Linked DNA regions of Homo sapiens: region 2 is linked to region 1. Evidence: promoter capture Hi-C in human tissues and cell types (Jung and others, 2019). All regions are on one chromosome and are shown on one strand. Each heading gives the region's core, a stretch centred on a gene start or on the middle of the fragment in contact. The rest is flanking DNA. Distances are from core to core; before and after follow the strand shown.

What was found. The method cuts DNA at HindIII sites, captures the fragments that hold promoters and counts their contacts. A contact is called where the count stands out against the background at its distance.
Region 2: a contact is called between a fragment that was not itself captured here and the fragment with the promoter of BTN3A1 in region 1, in 2 of the 25 tissues and cell types used here (neural progenitor cells and small bowel).

The regions. Positions count from the first base shown.
Region 1 is chr6:26,401,025-26,407,704 of GRCh38, reverse strand. BTN3A1 (butyrophilin subfamily 3 member A1) reads right to left here and starts at 5,430. Exons shown (of 10, transcript NM_007048.6): 1 at 5,293-5,430; 2 at 2,057-2,333; 3 at 1,449-1,796; 4 at 1-34. The coding sequence starts at 2,141. RefSeq lists an enhancer at 5,463-5,522. The HindIII fragment of the contact is 20,018 bases long and covers 1-6,680 here.
Region 2 is chr6:26,517,585-26,523,898 of GRCh38, reverse strand. TRL-CAG1-7 (tRNA-Leu (anticodon CAG) 1-7) reads right to left here and starts at 2,691; the gene lies at 2,609-2,691. HCG11 (HLA complex group 11) reads right to left here and starts at 2,193. Exons shown (of 1, transcript NR_026790.1): 1 at 1-2,193. LOC107986583 (a long non-coding RNA gene) reads left to right here. Exons shown (of 4, transcript XR_001744057.3): 1 at 1-2,390. It also overlaps the pseudogene RNU6-502P. RefSeq lists silencers at 1,738-2,257, 2,488-3,087. The HindIII fragment of the contact is 7,569 bases long and covers 1-6,314 here.

The sequences.
Region 1 (6,680 bases), core at 4,181-6,680:
CCCTTCACATCAACGTGAAGATCAGAACCCAGTGCTGTGGAAGGATGAATTAGCCTAAATTCTTGAGAGGCCTGTATCAGAGAGGGTCTCAAAAGGAATCATGGCACACTCACATTCCATAATTCAAGAACAATTTCATTTTAGAGCTGCTTACAAAAGTGTGGTCCTAGTGAGGAGAAAGCTACATGAATGAGTGCAGTATCCCAGGGTCAGTAACAGTGGGGCTATTCCCACCCACCACAGTTACCAGAGGGAGGAGGAGAGGGAGCTGTTTTGAAGACACAAAAGAAGAGATTTATGCATTAAGGACTTTCTTGAGAGGGGCAATGACCTTCAGCAAGGCAATGCAGCCAGCCTGAGGGTAACTTGCAGGAAGGAAGCCAGGGACTAAGCACCCAGATCTCTCTTTTCTCTCCCTCCCTTCATCGTCTGCTACAGATCCCTGCTGACCAAACCCTTAAACAGAAGCCACAGGGAAAAGCATTGCACTAAGAAAGAAAAGAGCAGTCCCTTTATCTGGAAGCAGCAACAGGACTCAGTGTCCTCCTGTTGAACAAAAGCAATTTCACAGAACACCAGCATCAGATGATGGCACTTTGTGACTATGATGGATCATGGGAAAAACAAGACCACCCCACATCATGTGTGAGCACAGAGAAAAACATGAACATTGTCCAAACCACAGCAGTGACCAAACAACCCCCATCAGCAATGAGGGATTGCTGTCCCTTCATCAATTACAGCTTTAGTCTCACCCTGGTCTCTTTCTTCCTAGATAAGATTGATTAAGGTTCTCACTCATAGAATTAACCTGCCCACACCTTCCTAGCAGTGTCTCATCCAGAGCAGAGGCCAAAGTCTATAAACCCTCCTCCCAAATCCCCTAACACAAGCCCAAATTATATACTAAGTCTGCTCTAACAGCTTCTTACTGAGACTCCACCACAGCTCCCCATGATATGTGTTCTTCCTCACTGCAACAAGTAAGAAACACAGCTCCCATGACTACAGGTGTATTCTAGGGTCATTGGCTCAAGAACATTGGCAGCAGATACAGTCCAGATAGCCCAGTCTTCTAGGGCCCACAATAGCATGTACCTAGTGGAGCCACAGAAGCCATCCAGTACAGAACTAAACACGAATGACTGTGTACTAGTCACTGAAGAGATGATTTCTTATGCTTTCTATCCCTTGTCCTTCACTTCCCTTATATCTCTGGTGGCCAGAGGAAAGGAGTTCTTTACTTGAGCATGTAGGGTACAGCAGGAATTCTTCCTAAAGGAAAACCTGTGTCTTACTCAAGGGCCTCAGAGAAGCTAAGTTGGGAGGCAGTGCAGGCAATTGCTAGTGAGCAGCCAGGAGTGTCTGCAGTGCTTTTGCAAGAGGGACTCTGCATCTGCTCTAGATCCTACAGAGAAATGTTCTCAGAACAAAACCTGGAGGCTCACCTGCAACCTTCAGCTCCACCAGGGCTTTTTCATAGAAGTCACCATCTTGGAAATAACACAAGTACTTTCCACTGTCAGAGGCTGTGACGTTGTGTATTCGGAGAGCAGCCTTCCCTGCAGTGATGCCATCCCGCAGAATCGAAGTTCTCCCTCGATACGGTGCACTCTGCCTGTCTTCCACTTCCTTTCCATCTGCATACACGTTCACCACCTGCCTTAGGCTGGAACTCACCCACTTCAGCTCCATGGTCTCTGCACTCATGGTCGGGAACAGGTGACAGGGCAGATCAGCGTCTTCACCCACCATGGCCAGGATGGGCCCAGAGGGTCCAAGCACAGAAAACTGAGCTGTAGGCACAAGGGGGAGGATCTGTCAGAGGGTTTTGGAGTTGGGGTCATGAGAGGAAGGGTGCTTCTCAGACAGGGAAGGCGAGATACAAAGAAACTGGTGGGGGAAACTGATCTTAACAGAAGCACCATTTGTCTCTTAGTGACGGGTGAACCTTCAGATCGGGATGGACTTCAGGTTTGGGAAGGAGTCAAAAGTCCTATGAGGACATAATTAGGTAATTGTCTGCTTCAGAAACAAGCGTGGAATTGTTCCCTACCTGAGTGAGGCATGAGCAGCTGAAGCAAAAGGAGGCAGACACGAAAGTTGAGCAGAAGGAAGGCCAGGAAACTTGCCATTTTCATTCATGCTGCATATCAGGAGATACTGGAAGGTGGGGGGCAGACACTATGACCTGGAAGAAGCTATAGAATTCCAAATGGAAACCTCCACTTCCCTAGAGCTAACTCAAGTATGGTGACCGAAGAAGATCTTTCCTCTGCCAAAAATTCTGTCCTTCAGTGTCTTCACCTTTGAGTCCCAACATTGAAAATCACCTGTAAAAACATGTCTATGTGAAATGCACATCTGTTATTCGATCAGAAAATCCTCACTGTACTGTTTAACAATATTCAGAATCCTATGACTTCCCCAAACTTCCCCTGCCAAGTCCAACCCACCACAATCCCCCTCTGATTCATGCAGGACACTCTTCACTGGGCTCCCTGGTTCCACCGGGGTCGACCGCTGTGGGTGTCCCACACTGTGGACTCCTCAAAGCCCCAACTCTTGGCCATCACCATGGTCAACTCATGGCCTAGTGGACTCCTGGTAGGATTAAGGAAGACTGCTTGGTGGGGGACCTGAAGTCAGTCAGGGGCTGAACCCACCACATTTAATCCAAGGCTAGTGATCACAGAGCTGCAAATAAGACCAGGCCTTACTTACCTTTTCTTTCTTCCCTTCATAAAGTCATTCAACAAATATTTACCAAGCACCCACAAGGGGCCAGGCCCATGATATAAGGGTTAGGGACACAAAGAGGGTAAGCAATAAGTAAAGGCTCTAAGATTCACAAGCTCTTTGGTCTCAGACATGGGACAAAACCATTGCAACTTTATTTACTTATACAATATCATGAAGTGTGAAATTTAGAATTGCACAGTTGGCCCAGCAGTTCCACTTCCTGATGTCAAGTCGAGCAAAGTACTTGCATGGGTGCAGACAGAAGCCTCTGTGAGAATGACACTGCAGCACTATTTTTAAAGTATAAAAATGGTAACCAACTGAACCAGCCACCCATCAGGAGACTGCTTAGAGGAATGACGGCTCATCCCTCGGAGGGAATTCAATGCAGCAGGTAAAAAGAGTTGATTTGTTGTCATGAACCTAGATAACGGAGACACACTAAGTGATCAAAAAACACCTTGCACAACTATACTAAAGATTCAATTGAAGAACAGAAGCAAAGCTATCCATTTCTGCATAACTATTTATGTAAATGCCTGAAAAACTCAAAAAAGACGCATGCTAATCTGAAGATCAGAGGTTAGTGAGTGAAGGGACACTTGGCCTTTTGTTCCCTTTACTTTTAAAATATTGGAATGCTTTAAATTTAAAACTTTTCGTGTATTACTTAACAATAATTATTATGAGTTACAATAGTGACGGGAACATATTAGCTGCTCAGTAAATACTAACTCCTCAACAGTTTCTTCCAAAACAAAGGAGCATGAGGCCTGCAGCCATAATCCCTCTTGCTGTGGGTCTGGGAATGGCCTCTGAGAACAAGATCTGCAGAGGGAGGTGGGGAGGGATGTAAAGGAAACAAGAGAACAGAGATCTGTGCAGCCGGCCATGCTTCACCCCTGCCTGGATCTTGCACCCACCCAGAGTAAACAATGCATTTCACCACATCTTTTGCTCCTCGAAACTGCTCTTTATGTTGCTATAGAGGGGGTATCATTTTTATTATCATTTTCCCTGAGTTAACAATTTCTCTGCTGTCCTTAGAATGAGACATAAGTTTTTCTTCTTCATAAAGGATATATTTTTTTTCCTGATTATAGTCAATATTGCAAATGAAAAAAAGCATAAAGGAATACAAGTTTAAGTAGTGGTTCATGCCTGTAATCCTTGCAATTTGGGAAGTTGAGATGGGAGGATCCCTGGAGCCCAGGAATTCAAGACCAGCCTGGTCAACATAATGAAACCCCATCTCTACAAATCAATCAATAAATAAAATAAAATATCTATAGTAGTAGTCATATACTTTGGTAGTGAAAAGGTAAATATTTCTGGAAGTATTTTGACCATATATATATAAAGGGCCTTAAAAAAAGTTATATGCTTTGCTAAGGAATGGCTATTAAAAGAAAAAAAAAAGGTGTGTGCTTTGACCCAAATGTTCCACTTGTAGGAATTAGTGTTGCAGAAAAAAGAAAATCAGGAACTAAGACAAAAATTTATGTTTTAGGCTGCTCAATACAGTAAAATCTACAATAGCCAAATGCAGAAAAGAGAAATAGTCCAAACTAGGGAAGTGTTTAAAAATAATTTTAAAGGCTGGGTGTGGTGGCTCACGCCTGTAATCCCAGCTCTTTGGGAGGCTGAGGTGGGCAGATCACCTGAGGTCAGGAGTTTGAGACCAGCCTAGACAATATGGCGAAACTCCGAATCTACTAAAAATACAAAAACTAGCTGGGTGTGGTGGCGTGCACCTGTAATCTCAGCTACCCAGGAGACTGAGGCAGGAGAATCACTGGAACCCAGGAAGCAGAGGCTGCAGTAAGCCGAGAACATGCCACTGCACTCCAGCCTGGGTGATAGAGCAAGACTGCATCTCAAAACAAACAAAAAAATTGTATATTCATACAATGAAATAGATTGTATCCATTGGATAGCATTCGTTAGGTTTGGGGGAAATGATGAATAAAAGGAAAAACACATACTGTTCCTAAAAGATTTTAAAACAAGGTTTAATGTATGGATCTAACATTGCTAAAATTATAAATAATTGCCCTTCATTAAAAACACGATTCCTAAAGGCTGCATGGAAATCTCTTTTATGATTGAACCATGCATTGTTTGTCTATCCCCCGCCTGTTGTATATGTATGCTGGTTCAGGTTTTTCTACATTTTTAATACTTCTGTAATGAACAAATTTACATATGAATCTATAAAGGACACCTCTTTTTAGAATCTCTTAGAATAGATGCCTTGAGTTGTCCAGAACAGATTTTAAAGATTGTTTGCCCTTTTCTGACTACAATACGTTCTTAAGAACATGCAATTAGACTATTTCTTCACCAAATCCCAAACTCTGCAGGTCTTTATTCTTTGCACTACTTCTCCCCTTTCCATGTGTCCACATGTGTGCGTGCGCACCCCCTCAGGCACACACCCCTTTCTCTGGGTGAGTACTCTCCCTGCATGCCCACTCACCACTCTCAGCGATTCAGCCCCTGTCCTCCCAGGCATTGTGAACCAGGCTCTAATCGACTTCCCCCACTCACCTCTTAGCATTCCCCTCTGAAAATCACAGCCCACAGAAGAAAGGCAGTTAATAGTTCTCCATTCTTTCTACTATGGTTAAATCTCCTTCTGGAAGAAAGGAAAAAGAAAGCAGAGACTGTCGGGTCATCGTGAGGAATAATAACAATCTCTCTTTGGAAGAATAAGTTTTTTGATTGGCTCAGAGGTGATGTTTCTCATCAGTTGCTGGGCAGAAACCACTGAGGAAGGCTGAAATGAAAACTGAAAGTACATTGAATTGTACACGTTGAAGAAAAATTCCTGCCCTACCTCCCTTACTGTTTATCTCTTTCATTCTTGTGTGTATATACGTATTTCTATATAGTCACTTGTCTTAAGTCTTTTATCATAATAGAAATATCAGCAGAACACAATGGGAAAAGATTTTAATGTGGTGAAGAGAGAAAGATGAGCACTAATTAAAATGCTACTGTGGCAGTTTGCTAACATTTGCTTGCATGAATATGGGTACATGGAGGAGGAGGAGATTTTACTACAGAGTCAAATAAACGTATGAATGGAAAGAAAACCAGACACAATGCACTTTTTTTTTGAAACGGAGTTTCACTCTGTCACCCAGGTTGGAGTGCAGTTGCAGGATCTTGGCTCACTGCAACCTTCGCCTCCCAGGTTCAAGTGATTTTCCTGCCTCAGCTCCTGAATAACTGGGATTACAGGTGCTCGCCCCATGCCCGGCTACTTTTTGTATTTTTAGTAGAGACAGGGTTTTGCCATATTGGCCAGGCTGGTCTCAAACTCCTGAGCTCAAGTGATCCTCCCTCCTCAGATCCCAAAGTGCTAGGATTACAGGCTTAAGCCACTGCACCCGGCCCACAATGCACATTTTTAAGCACCTCCAGCATCCAGGCTTAGGATCTGTTATCAAAAAATGTAATTTTTCTGGCTTCCAGAGGCAGTGCTGCTTGACACGTTTTACCTTTTTCAGCAAATTTTTAGTGCAGGTGTTTCTGAGCATCTCCATTCACCCTCAGCTCCTGTTCTGTGCTACACTGTATTTTCCTGTGTATTTGTTTCTCCTGCTGCCAGTGGAGTACATATTCTCTGAGGCCAGACTCTAGATAAACTGTGAATGCTGTCTCTGTAAGATGTCTATAAAACAAATTGGTTCTTCCTGTGGCCTAGGACCTCAAAACAGACTTTCTGGGATTGCAAGTCAATGATCGAAGTTCCTAAGGCTAAGATGTGACTGGGGCTGATGCAATTTAATTATATTGTAAATGTTTGAATTTAGACTGTGTAGTATCTGATTGAGATGGCTGGTCCCTTCTGCATCATGCATTCCCCCTTTCTTCTTGGTGATAAGGCCTAATTTTCTTAGGTACTACAACGTTCTTTTCCATCTGGTAGA
Region 2 (6,314 bases), core at 1,436-3,935, 120 kb before region 1:
ATGCAAAAGTCAATTACAGAAGACAAGTTTTCCTATGAATTTCAACACAAAGCATACAAAATATGCTAATTTTACTACTTTGTCATACACTGGCAACCTCTAGATGTTAAAAAATTAAGACTATTTGTCCATTATATACACTATATACAGAGCAAAACAAAATGCACAAAACATACAGAAAAATGGTGTCTGAAAATGTCCAAGTATGAACACACTAGCATATTATCTTTTGCAATTTCTTCCCTCCCACCTCCTCTAAACCATTGAGCAAGTATAGACAGTAATATACTGCTCACAAAGGTGGCTTCACAATTCAACTTCCAAAAGTATTTCCTATGAATTTTAGCAAAAAGATATTTACAAATTGGTATTTTACTACCTCTACATTTAATATACATCGGGCACTTCTAAACATCTAGATAGTCTAAATGTTTCAAGTAAGGAGTTAATTTGTCCACTATGTATGTACACAGCAGTCTCGAATAAACTGCAAACATGTAACAACAGTTATAATTTGAAAGAGTCTTCCAAATGTGAACATTCTGGCCTAGAACCCTTCCCATCTCCATCAACCCAGTGGGCAAGAATGCTCAAATTTTCAGAAGACAGTCTTTCCTAGGACTTGTAAAACAAAATGTACAAAATATATTAGTTTACTAACTCTAGTTTTGTTATACACTGGCAACCTCTTTAACATCCAGAAAGACTAGATGTTGTAAATTAGGACTCGTTTGTCCTTTATGTACATTATATACATAGATAAAACAAAATGCACAGACATAGTGATTCATCTTGCCTCGCTGTAAGCAGGATGGCATAGAGCTCTCTGCACCTCCCCCTCCTCTCTCCTCCCCTGAACTACTGCACAAACACAATGAGTATTACTCAACAGGTGATTTGGCCATTCCCCCCAAAAAACAACATTTCTATGAATTGTAACAAAAAGATATTTACAAAATGTGGTTTTACTACCTCTAATTTTAACATATATCAGACACTTCAGAATATCTAAAAAGAATAGACATTTCAAAAAAGCTTAGCATTGTCAACTACATACATAGTAGTGAGGAAGCGAATGCACACAAAACAATGGATAGAATATGAAAATGTCTTCTAAATATGACCAGTCTAGCATAGAACCTTCTTTTTTTCCTTCTCAGGTCTTCGAGCTCCATGTCATCTAACCCACTGAACAAACGTGAACGTATCGCTTCTAGAGGCCGTCTAACAACTCAGTTTCCAAAAGTCAACTCCGGAAGACATGTATTTTCTATGATTTCTTTTAAACAAATGAGAATTTACAAGATGTGTGACTTTCTAACTCTATCATACGTCGGCAACCTCTTTCCATCTAGAAGGGCTAGATGTGACAAATGTTTTCTATTAAAAGGTTGGGGTGGAGTTGAGAGCAGCTTTTTCATATTATATACACAGGCCTTCCGTAAACGGCCTGTGAATCTTCCCAGAGGATGGAGGGCATTTCCAACGGGCCAAACGTGGCCTGTCATTCTACCATTTGTCTCTTCCGACAGCAAGGTCTGGTAGTACGGAGACCAACCGCCCGATCGCCGCTAACCGTTCCACCCGTCGTCGTTCGGGACTTCGCTCACCTCCCAGGCCCGTTAAGGCCTTTGTCCGTTGTCGTTAGGACTAGGTAGGTCTCGCCCAATGGCGACAGAGTGGTCACCCGGGACCCAGATCTGGCGGCTCCGTGGCCTGAAGAGGCGGCCGAGCCTGCCTGCGTCCCTAGGCCGCCTTCCCGGGCCCTCCATGCCCTAACGCCCTCCGCCGCGCGGCGTTCGAGCGGCCGCCATGCTTCCCGGCACGCTACTCCCGCCGCCACCCAAAGGCGCTGCGTCCAGGCTGCTCGGCGGGGGTTTCGTCCAGGCCCGGCAGGCTTGGGCCGGGAGACCCGACGGCCGGCAGGGTCCGGACTGGGAGAGGCCGCCGCCGCCATCAGTCACCGAGGTAGGGTAGGGAAGAGACGTTCGCCACCGCTTCAAGGCCTGGGCCCAGCCAGTGGGCAGCCACAGCAGAGGCCTCCGGTATCTGCAGGGCAGAGGGCGCGGCCTGTCCCGGGGCGCCCCCTAGCTCACCCGCCGACCCGGGGCCGGAGGGCCTGGAGCGCCCTGGAGGAGCGGCCCGCGCTCTGCGTCTCTCCGCGCTCTCTGCCAGACCGGAACTCTTGCAGTGATTTCTTACGGGGAGTAAGGATGAGGTGGGGAATGAGACTGAAGAAATGGAATTAAAAAGATAACTATAACTAAATAAAGAGGAGCCCTGCAGTAATGTAATGAGCCATGAACTGAAGAGTAACATTTATTCAACTCTGCCTGTGAAGGAGGGAGAGGGAAAGACAACTAGAGACAGAGGAGAAACGGAAAAAGGAGGTGAGATTTCAAAACACCGGTAGGTTCTGAAATTATTTTCGGAGTACAGAGTACTTTTTGCTGTCCTTGGAGTGGCTAATAAAAACAAAGAGTGCTTTTATTCCGGAACTCGGAAAATTTATTTTTTAAAAAGAGAGAAGACCATGTCACAAAGAGCAGGTAGGAAAACGTAGCGTAAACTTAAACTCGATTTGTGTCTAAATACTAAAAGTACGAACTGTCAGGAGTGGGATTCGAACCCACGCCTCCAGGGGAGACTGCGACCTGAACGCAGCGCCTTAGACCGCTCGGCCATCCTGACGCGCTTATGCTACATTGTGCTCAGGACTCACTTCTGTCTCTTGTCTAAACGCTATTAGTTCCCCATCCACCAGCCGCCCCCCTACCCCATGTCCCCACCCCCGCCCACCCCCTTGTTGTTCTTTTTCTCAAGATATGGGCATTCCTGGGTTAAAAGGTAAGCCGCCTCTCCGCGAACTGCCTCGGACGGCGCTGCATAGGACCGGTTGTCCGGGCCACAGAGCGGCGTCTCCCGAGTGAACGCCGAGTCACTCCCAGGCTGCGCGGGGAGGGCTGCGGCGGGTGGGGCGGCGGGCGAGGGAGGGCGGGTCGGGGTAGGGGGAGCGGGACGGGGGCGGGGGCGTGGGAGGGGCGGGGCGGGCGTGGGAGGGGCGGGGAGGGGGCGGGGCGGGCGTGAGCCAGCCCAGGGCCGAGTGACTAAGGCGGAAGACGGCGATGGCGCTCTGCTCTCAACTGAATTCTAGTTAAAATAATGGCAATCCTGTTGAACTCAACATTACTAGAATACCTGGCTTAAATTTACACTTAATTCCCAGGAAGTTTTAGGCTTGCTCCAGTTTTTGCTGGAACAAGGTGCTCGCTAATCCTTCTCCTTTGCGTTGTGCTGCAAATCTCCCAGCACGTGGTTACCCTTGGCAGGGCCGGTGGAGGGGACAGGAGCGTGGGAAGCCTGGCTTGTCTTGCCTCTCTGTCGGAGTTTATGGAGGATTTGCGCACTTTTCGGTGTGGATGTTATACTGTAATAAAAACTTTAAAAAGCAAAAGCAAAAACAGCAACAACAAAAATGGGGAGTAGCTTATGTATTTTACTAAACCTGGCGCAGCGGGTACTTGATAGAAGGCCTTGAGCACAACAACTTTTCTAAACATAAACAAAGGTCAGAGGTGACCTACTTCAAATTTTGTTAGCAAGGGTTAGCAGTCAGGATGCCATGGTCGGAATATCACTGACTGGAAGTCAGGGGACCTGAGTACGAATTTCAGACAGAACTAGAACTGGTCACTACCTGGAGAATCTTAGATAAGTCATTTTGCTTCTGTGGACATTAGAAACAGCTTTCTTAGACACCTATAATACTTTCATCGTGAGTTCAATTGATAGAATACAATGTTTAATCCCTTAAATTAAGCATTAAATCCCCATCTCCAGGGAATCAATTAGAGGCAAATTCTGTTCTTCTCAGGCCTACCGATTCAGAAGTTTTGCTATGTCCAACATGGTGACTATAGTTAATAACAACGTTATTGAATACTTGAAAATTGCTAAGAGAGTGGATTTTAAATGTTCTTGCCACAAAAAGAAAAAGATAAGTATGTGATGTAATGGATATGTTAATTAGCTTGATTTAGCCTTCCCACAATGTACACATAGAACAAAACATCATTTTGTACATCATAAATATATATATCTTTATTTGTTGATTTTAAAAATACAAATAAGTAAATTAAAAAGTTATGAGGATAGAGTCCCACAGTAAGTGTTTAATAAGTCCTCTGCAAGGCCTCTAAAATTCAGTCACCTCTGCTCTTTTCACAGGGTAGTGGTGGATACCAACTTTGGAGATGAGGAGAGAGGCAATTCATCCAACATATAGGAAATATTTATTGGGTACCTACTATGTGCCAGGCAGCATTCTAGGTGCTGGTGATCCAACAGTAAACAAACAGACAGAATAAGCTCCACCATCGAAGGGCTTACACTATAATGGGGCAGTGAGCCCAAGAAACATGAAATAAAATGGACAGAGCTGTGCTCCCTTCGGCAAGCACTTACACTAAAATTGGAGCAATGCAGAGAAGATTAGCATGGCCTTTGCACAAGGATGACAGGCAAATTTGTGAAGCATTCCTTTTTGAGACGAAGTCTCGCTCTCGTTGTCCAGGCTGGAGTGCAATGGCGCGATCTCGGCTCACTGCAACCTCCTCCTCCCGGGTTTAAGCGATTCTCCTGCCTCAGCCTCCCTAGGAGCTGGGATTACAGGCGCCCGCCACCATGCCCGGCTAATTTTTGTATTTTTAGTAGAGACGGGGGTCTCACTGTGTTGGCCAGGCTGGTCTCGAACTCCTGACCTCAGGCGATCCACTCATCTCAGTCTCCCAAAGTGCTGGTATGACAGGCGTGAGCCACTGAGCCCGACGGGAGCATTCTATTTTTTTAAAAAAAGAATAAAAAATTAAAAAAAATAATAAAATGGAGAGAAGCTGAGACCTCTAATAAAGTAGTTATTTTAACTCCAGTCTCTAGGCCTCATGAGAAATCCCAGCTTAGTTCCCCAGTGAAAAATAGAATTGCCCTCTAAAGAAAGAGAAGTGGGGGAGGAAAAGCCCAATTTAGAAACAATACATGTATGTATTTTTTGAGACGGGATCTGGCTCTGTTGCCCGCGCTAGAGAGTAGCAGCATGATCCTGGCTCACTGTAGCCTCGAACTCCCAGGAGGAGTACAGGAGCAAGGATTACAGTAGCTAGGACTACAGGCACACACCAGCTGGCCTGGCTGTTTTTTATTGTTTTGTTATTATGTTGCCCTGGCTAGATAGTTTTATAAAAGGTTGAAAATGGCCAGGTGCAGTGGCTCACACCTGTAATCCCACCATTTTGGGAGGCCGAGGCGGGTGGATCACGTGAAGTCAAGAGTTCGAGACCAGCCTAGCCAGCATGGTGTAAACCCATCTCAACTAAAAATTAAAAAAAAAAAAAAAATTAGCCAGGCGTGGTGGCACACGCTTGTAATCCCAGCTACTTGGAAGGCTGAGGTAGGAGAATCGCTTGAATCCAGGAGGCGGAGGTTGCAGTGAGCCGAGATCGTGCCATTGCACTCCAGCCTGGGCAACAAGAGCAAAATTCCATCTCAAATAAATAAATGGTTAAAAATATAGAAAGCAAAACGAAGGCCAGACGTGGTGGCTTCACGCCTGTAATCCCAGCACTTTGGGAGGCCAAGGCGGGTGGATCACCTGAGGTCAGGAGTTCAAGACTAGCCTGGCCAACATGGGGGGTTTCAACCCCATCTCTACTAAAAATACAAAAATAGCCAGGCGTGGTGATGCATACCTGTAATCCCAGCTACTCGGGAGGCTGAGGCAGGAGAATCGCTTCATCCTGGAAGGTGGAGGTTGCAGTGAGCCGAGACTGCCATTGCACTCCAGCCTGGGCAACAAGAACGAAACTTCCCCCGACTCCCCGCAACCCCGCACCCCCCACTCCCCTACCCCCCACCTCCCCACCCCCCTACCCCCCACCTCCCCACCCCCCGCTCCGGCTGGCTTTGCCTAGGCTCATTTATGCCCACCATTCAGCCAAGATGCTAAGCCTCTCTCTTCATAAAGTCTTTCATTCCCAAGGAGGCTAGACGTGATGGGAAAGCAGTTCCCCGAGGTCTTGCCCCAGTGCCATGTTCTTATCCAACTTCTGCTTGCCTCACATTGGCCAAAGCAAGTCACAGGGCCCAAACTAAAGGCAGTGTAGGGAGAGGGTACTGCAAGAGTGGGGCCCAGGGAGGAAAGGTTTATTGGGTGTATTTGTACAACCATCTACCACAGTAATCTTAAAGAATAGTGAGAAGAAACAAAATTAAGAATTGAAAAACTAAGTTGTAAGACACAAAATTGAAAATCAGGTGAA